Regions from separate parts of the Homo sapiens genome. Here all the other regions are linked to region 2. Evidence: promoter capture Hi-C in 16 types of primary human blood cells and fetal thymus (Javierre and others, 2016). All regions are on one chromosome and are shown on one strand. Each heading gives the region's core, a stretch centred on a gene start or on the middle of the fragment in contact. The rest is flanking DNA. Distances are from core to core; before and after follow the strand shown.

Evidence for each region. The method cuts DNA at HindIII sites, captures the fragments that hold promoters and counts their contacts. A CHiCAGO score of 5 or more calls a contact.
Region 1: a fragment that was not itself captured here is called in contact with the fragment with the promoter of H4C16 in region 2 in 3 of 17 cell types (non-activated CD4 T cells, M2 macrophages and naive CD4 T cells); the score reaches 9.0 in non-activated CD4 T cells.
Region 3: a fragment that was not itself captured here is called in contact with the fragment with the promoter of H4C16 in region 2 in 8 of 17 cell types (non-activated CD4 T cells, M1 macrophages, total CD4 T cells and 5 more); the score reaches 9.7 in non-activated CD4 T cells.

The regions. Positions count from the first base shown.
Region 1 is chr12:15,548,994-15,553,263 of GRCh38, forward strand. It overlaps PTPRO (protein tyrosine phosphatase receptor type O), which reads left to right. Exons shown (of 27, transcript NM_030667.3): 14 at 101-233; 15 at 2,558-2,678. All of the region lies in intron 1 of LOC105369672 (a long non-coding RNA gene), which reads right to left. Among named protein-coding and RNA genes, the nearest start is that of PTPRO, 230 kb to the left of the region's middle. The HindIII fragment of the contact is 1,504 bases long and covers 2,189-3,692 here.
Region 2 is chr12:14,767,781-14,772,470 of GRCh38, forward strand. H4C16 (H4 histone 16) reads right to left here and starts at 3,351. Exons shown (of 1, transcript NM_175054.2): 1 at 2,940-3,351. The coding sequence starts at 3,304. The coding sequence ends at 2,993. LOC105369669 reads right to left here and starts at 2,877. Exons shown (of 3, transcript XM_047429947.1): 1 at 2,120-2,877; 2 at 1,159-1,229. The coding sequence starts at 2,373. RefSeq lists enhancers at 1,977-2,572, 2,573-3,169, 2,834-3,163. The HindIII fragment of the contact is 13,886 bases long and covers 1-3,729 here.
Region 3 is chr12:15,531,186-15,536,107 of GRCh38, forward strand. All of the region lies in intron 12 of PTPRO (protein tyrosine phosphatase receptor type O), which reads left to right. Among named protein-coding and RNA genes, the nearest start is that of PTPRO, 210 kb to the left of the region's middle. RefSeq lists enhancers at 3,273-3,362, 3,778-4,922. The HindIII fragment of the contact is 1,716 bases long and covers 1,684-3,399 here.

The DNA of each region.
Region 1 (4,270 bases), core at 1,691-4,190, 780 kb after region 2:
TTTTACTCTGTCAATCTATTACCAACTCAACTATGAAATATATTTTTAAAAAATATAGATGAAGTTAACCTAAAATTTACCTTATTTTCTGAAACCCCAGGAACCAGTTGCTGTTTCTTCCCATGTCGTGACCATCTCCAGCCTTCTTCCTGCCACTGCCTACAATTGTAGTGTCACCAGCTTTAGCCATGACAGCCCCAGTGTCCCTACGTTCATAGCCGTCTCAACAATGGGTAATTATACACATTAGTGTATAATTTTCTCACTTTTTTTGAATATATATATATATATGTATTTGTATCAATATTCCACCAAGAAATCCCAAGCTTCGGAGTCAGAGAGTCCTTAATTTCAATCCCAAAGTGCACTTACTAGCTATGGAGTTAGAGAAAGACATTTGGTGCCTCTGAGCTTTTCTTTCATCTGTAAAATTGGAATAATAATATGTAACTTTCTGAGTTGTTTTGAAGCTTAGAAATAAAATACTTAAATCCTTAGTATATGCTGTCTAAATGCTAGTTGCTAACTCATCTCATCTTCTTCAGTAATAGGCACAGTACTCTTATCAATCCAATTTCATCTATTTAGCCTTGGTCTTCATCTGTCACCGATCAGAGAATGACATAATTGATAACTGGGTCAAAGCAAGAAAGTTTCCAATCCAGCCAAAAGTATAAGTGGGAAAATTAGAGGTTAATGAAAGGTCTGGAATGATGCTGTTTATTTCCTTATTCTTTTCTTAGTTGTATTACATGTGTTACTCCTGGTTTGTTAGAGTCTGATTCTGCAACCTGAGACCCTCTATGAAGCCTCTTGTAATAAAGTCACTCATAACTTCACTGGTTTAGTTCCATTTCTGTAATATTAGTCATATATTTAGCTGCTAAATTCAGGGATGACTGGAGCGGACTGTTTTCTTTTTTCTTTTTCTTTTTGGTTTTCTGTTTTTAATTTTTGTTTTTTCAGAAGAGAGGACAAAAAATATACCTGCAAAGTATTTTAATGGTCTCTCATTCCTACATCCTTGTACACTTTCTAAAATATACAGTTGACGATGAATAATGAGAGACTTAGAAGTGCCAACCTCTGCATAGTTGAAAATCCATGTATAATTTTTGACTCCCTCAAAACTTAACTACTCATAGGCTACTGTTGACCTGAAGTCTTACCAATGATATAGACAGTTGATCAACACATTTTTGTATGTTATACTTATTATATATTGTATTCTTACAATAAAGTAAGCTAGAGAAAAGAAAATGTTATTGAGAAAATCGTAAGGAAGAGAAAATATATGTACTATTCATTAAGTGGAAGCAGATCTTCATAAAGATCTTCCTCATGGTCTTCACATTGAGTAGGCTGAGGAGGAGGAGGAAGAGGAGGGTTTGGTCTTGCTGTCTCAAGGGTGGCAGAGAGTAAAGATAATCCATATATATGTGAACCTGCACAGTTCAAACTCATTTTGTTCAAGGGTCAACTGTACCTTAATGTCCATCATTCCTTGTCAGCTCCATGACAATGTAGCATAACAGGTGATATTATTAAACTTATTTATAAATGAGGAAAATGAGGCCCATAGGGCAGATGAAATGGCTTCTCTCCAAATAGCAGTACTCAAGCGAAAAAGCTCTTCTGATCATGCGTCCATTGTTCTTTCTGTTTAAGCACTCTACTCATAAACTGGAGCCAAGCTGGCCCAAATGGGAAGTGGTAAATACCCAGAACCTTAGGGATCAGATGCACCTGCTCATTCTGTGACTTTATGATCAATGCAAAAGATGGTATGAGTCCTCAGGCCCATTTTAAAGAGTTTTATAAGAATATTAAACCTATGTTCCTGCCTTTGATATCCTGTTCTTCCGTGTAGTATGAAGAAGTAGACAATGTGTAAGTGCCACAGGAGACAAGTCTTTATATAGAGTACATGAAAAGGACGTGACCCCTGTTCTTCAGGGCCCTACAACCTATTAATAGGTTTTATCTCTTGAGCTGTGCAGATGGAAAACCCCTAAACATATGGCCACGGATCATCAGAATGTCTGCTTCTAGTAATGTGTTAAGTGCTTCAGCAGATGGTAGTTTGCTAATGTCTTTTTGATATACATTATTAGTTGTAAGCAAAGTATACAGTTGTGCTTTCTGACTTCAAAATCATGGGCGTAAAATAAGAGGTTGCCACCCTCTAAGCTTGTGAAAATGTTAAAAAACGATAATGCATGGTAATGACTTCCACATTTTTAGCTTTCAAATGAATTTAAACTGTGGCACAGGTATTCTTCATTCTTTAGTTTCCCTATGTAAGAATATCCTGAATGTTGTAGGCCTTTGAAAGGGACTCAATTCTTCCAGACACCTCAATACCACTTATCAGTCTAGTTTGCTAAGTTACAGTTGACCAGGAAGAGGTCATTGCTGGCTTGGGGAACATGATTGTTACTATTATTGGTATCATCGTAAGCTCACTGCCCTTAAGACTAGATGAAAAGCAATGAATGGTTCTGTTTGGTTCCCTGTAAGAGAACCTATGATGAAAATGCACAACTTATCTCTTTAGTTACAGAGATGAATCCCAATGTGGTAGTGATCTCCGTGCTGGCCATCCTTAGCACACTTTTAATTGGACTGTTGCTTGTTACCCTCATTATTCTTAGGAAAAAGCATCTGCAGATGGCTAGGTAAGTTAAGTTTTACTAATATTTTATCCGGAATCTTTAAAATATCTTTATCTGCCATATATATATTGTTTTTGCACACCTAAGTTGTATAGCGGTATATTGGATTTTAGTTTTCAGTGTCTGTTTCTATTGTGTGTGTTTTCTAAATAGACTTCGAAACATTATATTGGAAAATATTACCATTGAAATGAGAAAGCAAAGGATTGCTTGTTTACACAAAGTCAGACCTCTTGCTATCAATCTTGGCATTTGAAGTAGCCCATATATGGAGATCCATTACATTTGGGTACTTTCATACACATTTGGAATAAAAGAAATATCTATGACAGTTCAGTATAGTTAATGAAAAAAGTTAATAAAAATGGAGATGACAAGAAAGAACGGGGTGGGGGGCGGGAAATCCTCTCCATAATTTTAAGCTGTTCTATTGGAAAATATTTGTACAGTTTATGATTAGGTCCATTAGCAGTCTCTATTAGTTTTATTCCTATTACTCAGAGTTGCAGCCAGCTTAGTTTTTCTTGCAATTAGAAAAGCCTTTGATTTATGATTTCAGCTCTTCCCTGTTCCTTTGACCACTGATGCATTGCTCATCAGAGCACATTCTCAAGTAGTTTCTGTGGCCCCCTGTATTATCAGAATAATCTATCAATTCCCTTAAAAACTGTTGCTTATTTGAATACTACTTGGTTTGGGAAATTTTGTTAACATTTATATTTGCCCAATATTAACCTGCTGAATTATAAATTAACATTCTTCTCCTGTCTCAGAGTTCTATCACTCACATATTTATAAATAAATTCATCTATCCAATAGTGATCTAATCAGTGCCTGACATGGCATATCCAAAGAAAAATCAGACATCAAAGCTGTCCACTAGGAGCTTACTTACCTAACTGGATATATGAATAGATAGATATATTTAAAGGCATAAGCTGACATGTAGCATAAAGGGGATTAAAAACAGGATGCCATGAAACTAGAGAATAAAGACTAATTCTGAATGTGAAAATAAGCTTCTTGAAGGTTGGCATTTGAATAATCTTAAAAGGATAAGAAGAGATGTGGGATTGCACTGTAACTACAGTGGAGAGCTCTGAAATTACACTCCTTGAGGTCAAATCTTTTTTTTTTTTTTTTTTTTTTGAGACAGAGTCTCACTCTGTCGCCCAGGCTGGAGTGCAATGGTGCCATCTTGGTTCACTGCAAGCTCTGCTTCTCAGGTTCAAGCGATTCTTCTGCCTCAGTCTCCTGAATAGCTGGGATTACAGGCACGCACCACTAGGCCTAGTTAATTTTTGTATTTTTAGTAGACACAGGGTTTCACCATGTTGGCCAGGCTTGTCTCGAACTCCTGACCTTAAGTAATCTGCCCACCTCAGCCTCCCAAAGTGCTGGGACTATAGGCGTGAGTCACCATGCTCGGCCTCCTTGAGATCGAATCTTGACTTCCAACTTGCGTGAATTTGTGTAGGTCACTGAAACTTCATGCGTTCATATTACAAATATTGCTACATATATGACAGTATATGAAACAGACAAAAATATGTGCCTTCATGGAGCTCATATTCTAGTGGGAGAAATAGACAATA
Region 2 (4,690 bases), core at 2,101-4,600:
TGCTTTTCCCCCAAATTTGGTGTGGCCTTCTTCAATGGGTCATTAGCTCAGAACAGATGGCACCTGTGCTCTTTGAAGATACCCATACACTTGGCTGACAAAATTTGTCCTTTTGTATACCAATAGCATTTGATTTATACCACTCTATTAGAGCAAACCATATGTGTACAACTACACGTCTTTCCCCTTTCTCTCCTAGAAAAATAGGAGTTTCTTGATGGCAGTAACTTGCTCATTTATCTCTGAATATTCAAAATATGCTTGGAAAAGAGGCATTAAACAAATGTTCAAAATTCAAAAGGGATGACTTTGCTACAGGATCAAATTTCAATGCATTCCATTCACTTTACATTTTATAATTCTTATTTTATGTAGAGATGGGGTCTCACTATGTTGGCCATGCTGGTCTCAAACTCCTGGCCTCCAGCAATCCTACTGCCTCAGCCTTCCCAAAGTGCTGGCATTATAGCCACCCCCACCCCGCCCCCCTCATTCACATTTTAAGTGAGGCATTACAGAGTTTTAAATCAAGTTCTTTAACATTTTTAGTAAGCAATTTTACTATTAATAGTAAACTTCAGAAAATCTTGATCGTTTTCAGTTTGAGATATTCTGTTCAGTTATTGAACCGTGTGACCCAGTTTTGGTTTGGAAGATATGATTACTGTCAGGACTGGGTACTTACTATACCATAGGACTCAGAGTCACAGACAAAAATAAATATTTCTTGGGTTTAGATAATTAGGTTATATTTTATAAAGAACAAAACACAAACAAAAAAATAACTATGCTACAAGGGAAAATATAAGTTCTATTCTAATCAAAGAATTGAGACCACTACAAAAATAAAAAAAAACCCCAAAACCATGAAATATTTAAACAATTCCATATAAGTTAAATACTTAAGGAAGAGTTTTAATTGTCATACAAATATCTACAGTATTTCTATCCTCCATCGGGGCCCTAACTTTCATCCTTAATTTATGTGAAACCCAAAATCACTCATTTGGTCATGCAACAAATATCGAGGGCACGAAAGTATGCCAGACTCTATTTCTTTTAAGTAACTCAATTTTTCACTTGCATTAAAGAAAATTGAACTTCTCCGAGTGTCTCACTGTCTTAGAAATTAAACTAACACCAGTATTGTGTACTCACTTGAAGTCTTTATGGAGTAGGAGAAAGTACTTAGAAATGACACGTCAGCAAAAAGGAACAGGGGAGCCTTCCTGGCAGAAGAAGAGGCAAATGTCAAGATCTAGCGGTGCGGAATCCTTCGCCAGCTGGGTTCCAATCTTGACTCCAGTTCTTTAACCCCTGGGGCTGGGAAACTCCCTTAGAGTGACTTCAGCCCACCGCACCAAGGAAGCTATATGACTTCTTCATGTTTAGAATAGCTAGAGCAAGACCAAGCGTGGTGGCTCACGCCTGAAATGCCAGCACTTTGGGAGGCGGAGGCGGGTGAATCACTTGAGGCCAGGAGTTCAAGACCAGCCTGGCCAACATGGTGAAACCCCGTATCTACCAAAAAAAAAAAAAATACAAAAATTAGCCAGGCGTGGTGGCGCAGGCCTGTAATCCCAGCTACTCCGGAAGCTGAGGCAGGTGAATCGCTTGAACCCGGGAGGCGGAGGCGAGATCGTGCCACTGCACTCCAGCCTCGGTGGCAGAGCTAGACTTGGTCTCGAAAAGAAAGGAAAAAAGAAAAGGTAGAGAAGGGGCAGATTAGTTAACGCGGCATGGATCACACCGCATCCTGGGGTGCCAAGCCTAATGAGAAGTTAGGAAGGACAGAGCCAGGAGTAGAGCGAGGCTGTTATACGGAGCTTTACCGGAGGCCGGGGCGACCCCTACGGCCTGGACGCAGGCTGATCACCAGGTCTTCCGCCCCCTACCCTCGCCTACTGGAAAGTGCGCTTAACTGGTAGCACCAGCCCCACCTTTCTCCAAGACCCTCACTACACCCCGGGAGTACCGGGTAGGACCACGCGCTTGGTAATCCCACAGCTGTCTCTCTTACATTCTCACTGAACTTATTAGAACCTAACCCGCCACCCGTTTCCCTTCTAGACCCCCAGGCTGCTCTGAACAGGGCCTTTACTCGGAAGCCAGGGCTTACCTCCCGGCTGCGATAGGGTTATTTGTGATGGGCATGACACTGCTCGGAGCGGGGGATTCCCGGCAACTTGGCGACCTGCAGGTGATCTGGCCTTTCATGCCGGCGTGACCCCCACTGCCTGCCTGCCAACTCCACGCCCGCCGCCAGGTGGCCGAGCAGGACGCTACCCGCTTGGCGTAGGCAACTTTACGCAGCTGGCTAAGAGGGAATCGCAGGGTGTCGCGAGTTTCGCCCGGCCGCCTTAATCTCAGCATCTGAGCTTGGTCACCTCTCACTCAACGTCAGCGATTAAGTAAAATAGTACCCAGTAAGACTACGCGCCACACTAGAGCTGCATTCAGCTTTCGGGCTTGCAGGTAGCGGCGTGCTGCGACCTCCCATTTCCTGCGACTTAGCAAGCCCTGCACACGCACGAACCGCCCTTGACGCGTGACGCTCACCCCTGAAGGCCAGCAGGAAGTCACCTAAGCCCTGATTTACATGGAAGCCATCCGATACGTGCTTATGGGCCAACGACTCGGCCGCTTAGAAGACCATGACCAGTTCTAACACTAGGGCTTTGTACAAGCACTCTTCTAAACAAAATCCGGTGTCTGGATTTTGGGAGGTCACTACTGCGTTGCGCGGCACCTCCAGGGTCGTACCTAAGCACAGGCGGAACCCCCTCCTTGAGGTCTAGTTCTCCCCGTGCCCGCCAAGTCTAATCCCGAGCAGATGCTCGGGCCGCGAATATCCCATTTCCGGTATCCGGAAGGCGACATCAAAGGGTTGATATTTACCCGTTATCTAGGAAGTGTTAACAGCTCTTTCTGTGACAGTTTGGGGGCCCTGAAAAGGGCCTTTTGGAGTCTGTAGAGAAGCTGTGGGGACAGCTCAACCGCCGAAACCATAAAGGGTGCGACCCTGGCGTTTCAGCGCGTACACCACATCCATGGCCGTGACGGTCTTGCGCTTGGCGTGCTCCGTGTAAGTCACCGCGTCACGGATCACGTTCTCCAGGAAGACTTTGAGGACTCCCCGGGTCTCCTCGTAGATGAGACCAGAAATGCGCTTGACGCCCCCACGTCGGGCGAGACGGCGAATCGCCGGCTTTGTAATGCCTTGGATATTGTCCCGCAGCACCTTCCGGTGGCGCTTGGCGCCTCCCTTACCCAGCCCCTTGCCACCTTTACCTCGCCCAGACATTCTGAAATCACAGCGCCTACTCAGCAGAAAATCGGGCTGCCCACTGTGATTGCCAGTCGCAGACCAGGGCTTATAGTCTCTCGATGCGGACCTGTTTGAAAACATCAAAAAAGTGGGCGGAGCTCTAGGCCCCACCTCTGGAGACATGCTATAGTTGTTAAGTCCAGGAAGCAGTCAGCGAAACCAGCCTGATTTTTTTGTTGTTTGCTCTTTTGGGAAAATTTTTTCTGATGTTTGGAGAAAGGTTCATGGTGATACGTTTTAAAGTTAAAACAGTATGAGCTAAAAGAATTTATATTGCCTTTTCTCAGCGCTTAAATAAAAGTAGGCCAGATCCTATGCACGTTCCTTGTTCTGTCCCTCCCTCCTTCTGTTTTTTCAAACGGAATTCCTGACTTACTATGAAACTCTATAAAAACCTGAAAAGCTTTACATCCGAGATTTCAAAGCAATTACTTAAAATTTAAAATTTTTCACACGTGGGTCTTCTGAAGACATAGTAGGGGGAGAGGACTTTTTTCTCTTTTACGGCCCTGCAGATAATTAAAATTCTTTCAATTGAAAAAAGAAAGTGCAGCTTCCCGTCCCCCACCTACACTCCACCCCCACCTCCCCCCGACCCCCGCCATTCCCCTTTCAGCTGCTTCTGCGCAATTTGCAGGTTTTCCTGCCCTGCAAGAGCCTGTGTGCTTTTCAACCAAGTAACTTCCTGTGGTTATTTAGTTGAAATATTGTCAATGTCTTATGTCATTCAAATCTCAGGTTCTCATCTCACATTTTCCACTTAAAAATTCAAAGTTCTTGTAAAACAATGGATGCCACAATCATGACTTGGAATAATGATTTCTACTGCAAATCCCCTCAGGAGGTTCTGAATCCCTTCCTTTCTCAAGAGAATCCCTGAACAAAAACGAAAGTTTCTGTAAGGTGTCACCGCTCTTCAAAGGTGTCAGGACCCTGTCTTCTCTAAAGGTTTTACTGTGTTAAAAAGCAGCTGTTATTTAGAGGATGAGTCATAAGTCTTTCCCAGGTAGTTAATTAGGATTCTGAGCAATGAATTTTAGTAAGTGGGGCTTCTTTGTCCCTGGTCTTGAAGATAAGCCTTTACAGCAGGAAGACTTTATGGTAAAATTTTGTTATATTTATAAATGCCTATAGTTTACATTTGTTTCAATCCATGCCCATCTTCATAACCCAAAAGGTATTTATTTTTCTTTTACTTTTTGTTAAAGATAAAAGAGTTGGAACACTGTCTTGAATGGCTGGAAAAAGTCCTGAATGGTCGAACTTCACTCATGATTTTAATATTTGACTCAGAGGGAAGAGGAAAAGTCTATCAGATCTTGAAGAGATAAGAATTATTGTAATGGGGCCGGGCGCGGTGGC
Region 3 (4,922 bases), core at 1,292-3,791, 760 kb after region 2:
AATAATGAGCAGTGAGATGAAAGTCATAATAAAGTCTCCTACCAAAGAAAGCCCAGGTCCTGATGGCTTGACCCCTGAATTTCACCAGACATTTAAAGAAGGACTAATGCCAATCCTGCTCAAACTTTTCAAAAAAGCTGAATAGGAAGGAATACTTCCAAATTCATTCTGTAAGATAATATGCCAAGAAAAATAATAGGCTGTGGATAAGGAAAAACAGATACTTTAACATTCTTGCAAATGAACTGGATCTTTTTGTGTAGTGTAATGTCAAAATAATTCTTTATATTATGACATACAGCTGGAAAGTGACTGTGTAGCATACAACTGGAAAGTGACTGTGTAACACAAAACACATCTTCTACATTCAAAAATTGACCATTTATTGCGGTATACATTTAGTTTCTGATACTTATAGGGAAACTCGAAGACAGTATCCTAAAATCTGCCACAGACAATGGAGGATGGATTGACACAAAGTTGTGTGATAGACCTTTAGAGACAGTATGACCGAAAGAGTGGCAACCCAAAACTAAATGCATAATTTCAATATGTAATTTTCACAGCAGAGATTTTATAATTTTCATATTTCAAAAATTAAGTTTATCTAATGGCAATAAAAGTGTTTTCCACATAGTTAATGCAATTTAGTGACATCATTTTTTAAGATGTCTGCTAATTTTTGTGTCTGAATTTGTTCATAACAGTCTCAAGCCATCTCTGTTATTACATGTGTTCATATTAGCAGCTGTAAGTAAAGACTAATTCGTGGTTGTTTTATTAGTAGCTTAAATACCATGGGTAGTATTGTTGGCAGTGATGTACTTTTAGAAAAATTTTAGAAAATCTAAAAAACAAAAAATACGATCTTTCCTCAATTTACCCAGTAATTGCATTTCTCCAGAACTCAATGCATAGGTCACTGAGTCTTAAATTTCTTTGTCTCCTATTTGCCAAGACAAAAGCTAAGTTTTTGTGCTGAAATACTTTAAAATTGTATAGGTAATTTGGAAATATGTGATGTGTTGATTAGACACTATGGAAGTAAAAATTATAATATTGAATAATTTATAATTTTAAATACTATCTTAATTGGATTTAAATATGCCTTTTCATGACAACTTTCTTCTAAATTATTTTACTTAATTTCTTTTTAAAAACTTTCAATATTATGTAGCAAAGTACTTGCAATTTACACTTATGGTGGATTTTCTCTGGTATGACATTTGAAAGTCATGTGGGATGTGGGACATGGGACAATTTGTCTTTTGGTGTCCTCTTAATAATTCCAGGACGGCTAGCATTTCTAAGTCCTGACCACAAAAGAACAGCTAATTCCCTCTGCTGTGACTAATAAAAACATTCCTCCAAACTTTCAAACACCCTCAAGGGGGCACTAGTGCCCCAATTGAGGATCAAGGGTTGTCTCTTACCTTTCCTGCACTGAAGGCAATCTGCTCTTCCTCCCTTGTGGTCTATACTTAAATTCTACGAATGTGGAGAGCACCAACTTCCAACTTTGCATAATCTTTCTATTAAGAAAAAAGTTGCCTGTCTACCAATTCCAGCCATTATCTCTGACTCTGACCTCTGTGGGTGTAAAGGGCCGTTCAAAAACTCATTTCCAGGTAACTGTAATTACTTGAAGATTGAGCTCATATTCCCAATGTCTTCCTTTTTCCAAGCTTTACTAATACAGGAAGCTATTAAGTGTTTCTCAGGTCCTAGCAGCTTTCTCCAACTCATTTGGTTTTTCAGTCTCCCTTAAAATTTAAGTTCAGAGGTGGTCTTATCAAAGTAGCATTTAGTGGGCCTATTGGATACTTCACTGAAATTTCTATGTGACATCATGGTCGAAGGTGCCTCAGGAATATGAGTCAAAGTCATGAACTAGTACAACTGTATCTACATAGGACTGTGAGTTAAAACCATGATAGTTTCCCAAACTTATCAAAATGTTTGGAGTCTCCATGTCTCCCTGATAATAGAATGGACTATGTAAACCAGCTTGGAAAATTTATTTAAACTTTACAAGAAGGAAAGTTGAGTTTTCATGGAAATTATTTCTAGTTAATGTAACCCTTAGGATCAATAACCTTTTTCTTATTGGTATCTTAAATATCAAATGGAATATTGTTTCTATCTTATTCCTCTCTGTAGACAAGACAATCTTTTTATGATGTGCCTTTCTTATTTTCTTGAAAACATATAATGTTGGTTTTTATCCTTTAGTCAAAAGATCTGTTCTACTAATCATGTTATTGTGTATATAAGCCCTTTCCATTTTATATAACACAATGCCTGAACACCTATAACTGCTTAACAGATACTGTTGAATGAATTGAAATTGCGGACCTCAAAGTTGAACATAGTATTGCAGTTAATATTTAATCGGAACAAGTTTAACCTTTCAGAGAAGTGAAATAATATCTTGCTTTAGTAGTACCTGAATTGCAGGTTTTGTGTGTGTTTGTGTGTGTTTTTTACAGAACTTTCATTCTAGTTGTTTTATGTTTCTTCCCAGCATTCATTTTGATATATATAGAAGTCATAGTCATTCTCCTTTAAAGAAAAATACAACTTTGGCACAGATTTTTCAGAGCATGTTTGAATCAGAATGCCATTGTTAAAGCTGGGGCCGTAACTGGTTGGGCTAACCTGCAGTTCAATTTATCTATAATAGAGGCCTCTTTAGAATGCCTCTGAATGACTCCTGTGTCATGGAGGGTAGGTTCTACCTCTATAGAAAGAAACCAAACTACCAATGAGTCCAGTATCATATAAATTAATCTAATGTGTCATGTGCAAGGGTAGAGAGCCCTCAAACAGTTGCCAATAATTCTCAACATTGTATCATCAATAAACATCCATAAAAAGAAATGCACCAATAATGGTGCTTTTCCCAGGATGTTGAACCAACCATCCCATTAGGAATTTTAGGTTGCCAGCAGTTTCACGAAACTTTGGTGGTATGTGGTGACAGGTCCCTTTGACAGTCAGTCATTACTATCTTCTAGTCTTGGTGAATCAACCTGGATCCCTGGGCCAACTTTAAGAGGACATGTTAAGTCTACATAAGATAATCAGTTTCCCAACCTTAAAAAAAAGAAAAAGAAAGGAAAGAAAAAACAGGAATGAGACGTGTTGGACACATCACAAATAGCTCTCTGGTAATAGAATATCCATTCATCAATCCATTTAACTAATATATATTAAGAACCTTCTAAGTACTACTCAGATGCCAGAGTACTTGTGGTAGTCGTGATGGTAATGAACCCAGAGCGCTACTTTCACTTTCTGTTCACAAGGAGCTTATGATCTAGTGAAGGGGAAGATGGTAATAGTGCTGTACAGTGCTCTACAACAGGGAAATGTGGTGCAGAATGACTGTGTGGTCAAAGCTTTCTTTGAGGAAGCCATGGAGGCTATGGTCTGAATAACAAGAAGAACCAGCCACAAAAAGGCCAAGAAGGAGGATGCCAGACAGAGGGAACAGGCAGGCCTGAGTATAGATCTTTTAAGGCATGCAGTTGGAATATTATCTTCAGAGTAATGAAGGGCCATTTAGAGAACTTAAAATAAACAGTCCGATTTACATTTAAAACAATCCCTCTGGTTGCTTAATGAGAAAGGGATTATTGTATCAACAATGAAAGTAGGGGAACTAATTAAGGGGCTATTTGTGCCAGCTTTAAAAATTATATTCTAATTCAAAGAAGTTGCAAGAGAGTGATGGTAACTTTGACTACGGTGGTTGTAATGGAGATGAAGAGAAGTGGACAGAATTCAGGAGCTCTTTTGGAGGTTGTGTCCACAGAACTTTCTGATACGGCAGAAACACGAAGTGAGGGAAAGGGAAATTAATGACTCCCAGGCTTCACCCTTGAGCAACTAGGACAAATGGTGGCGCAATTCACTGAGATTGAGATGACTAGTAAAACTACAGGAGGAGGACATTTAGGGTGAAGTAAGAATCAAGGATTCTTCTTTGGATGTAAACAAATTTAAAATGATTATTGGATATCCCGGTGCAGATGTGAAGGCCAGGGGAGAATTCTGGGCTGGAAATATAAATTTGGAAGTGTCTGGATGAAATCACCAAGTAGTAAGTAAAGACAGGGAAGAAAAGAGAAGCCCTGGATCAACTCTAGAGGAGCCACCCCAGCAGTTAGAAATTCAGCTTAGCAGGAAGCATCAGAAAGAGAGAGTGGAAAGGAACAGCTAAGGAGGTCAGAGAAAACAAAACAAAACAAAACAAAAACAGAATTGCACACCACCATCATCAAACTTATGCTTTATCCTGACCACAGACATGTTCGGGCACGTTCGAGATAAGGAATCATATAACTTTAGTGCTAGGAGAGCTTTTGGAGATAATTCAGTGCTATGTCCTCATTTGAACAAGCTGGCGCTTAGAGAAATGTGACACGCTTTATACATTGCTAGGTCTTGGTCCAGAAACAGTCATTTCGTACTTTTTATCCATCTGCTGCTTCTATTCCTGGACTGGGGTGTGGCCTTTTTCCTTCAAACTTCATTTTTTCTATTAAAAAATTTAACAGAACAGGGAGGAGCCTCATACCCACTTTTGTGACTTTCCGTTCCTCTTTGGAATTTGGTCTTAGGGACATTGGCTTGATTTTCTTAATCTTACTCATACAAACCTTTATAGAGATTAGAAATCTTTAAAACATAATTTGGCTATGGACAAGAAAAAAATCAAAATACTTTGAAATGTTAAGTATTTGGGGGATAGTAGGCTTTTTCTCTCTGTCTCTCTCAAATATGGTTATAGATACATAGAAATCTGTAGGCTGCCAGTCAGCTAGAAAGAAGCTAATAAAATGCTTAAGGTCTTATACTTTTTTAAAAAATTATTCATCCTGTGAATCAGAGAATATTTACTTAGCATTTACTATATG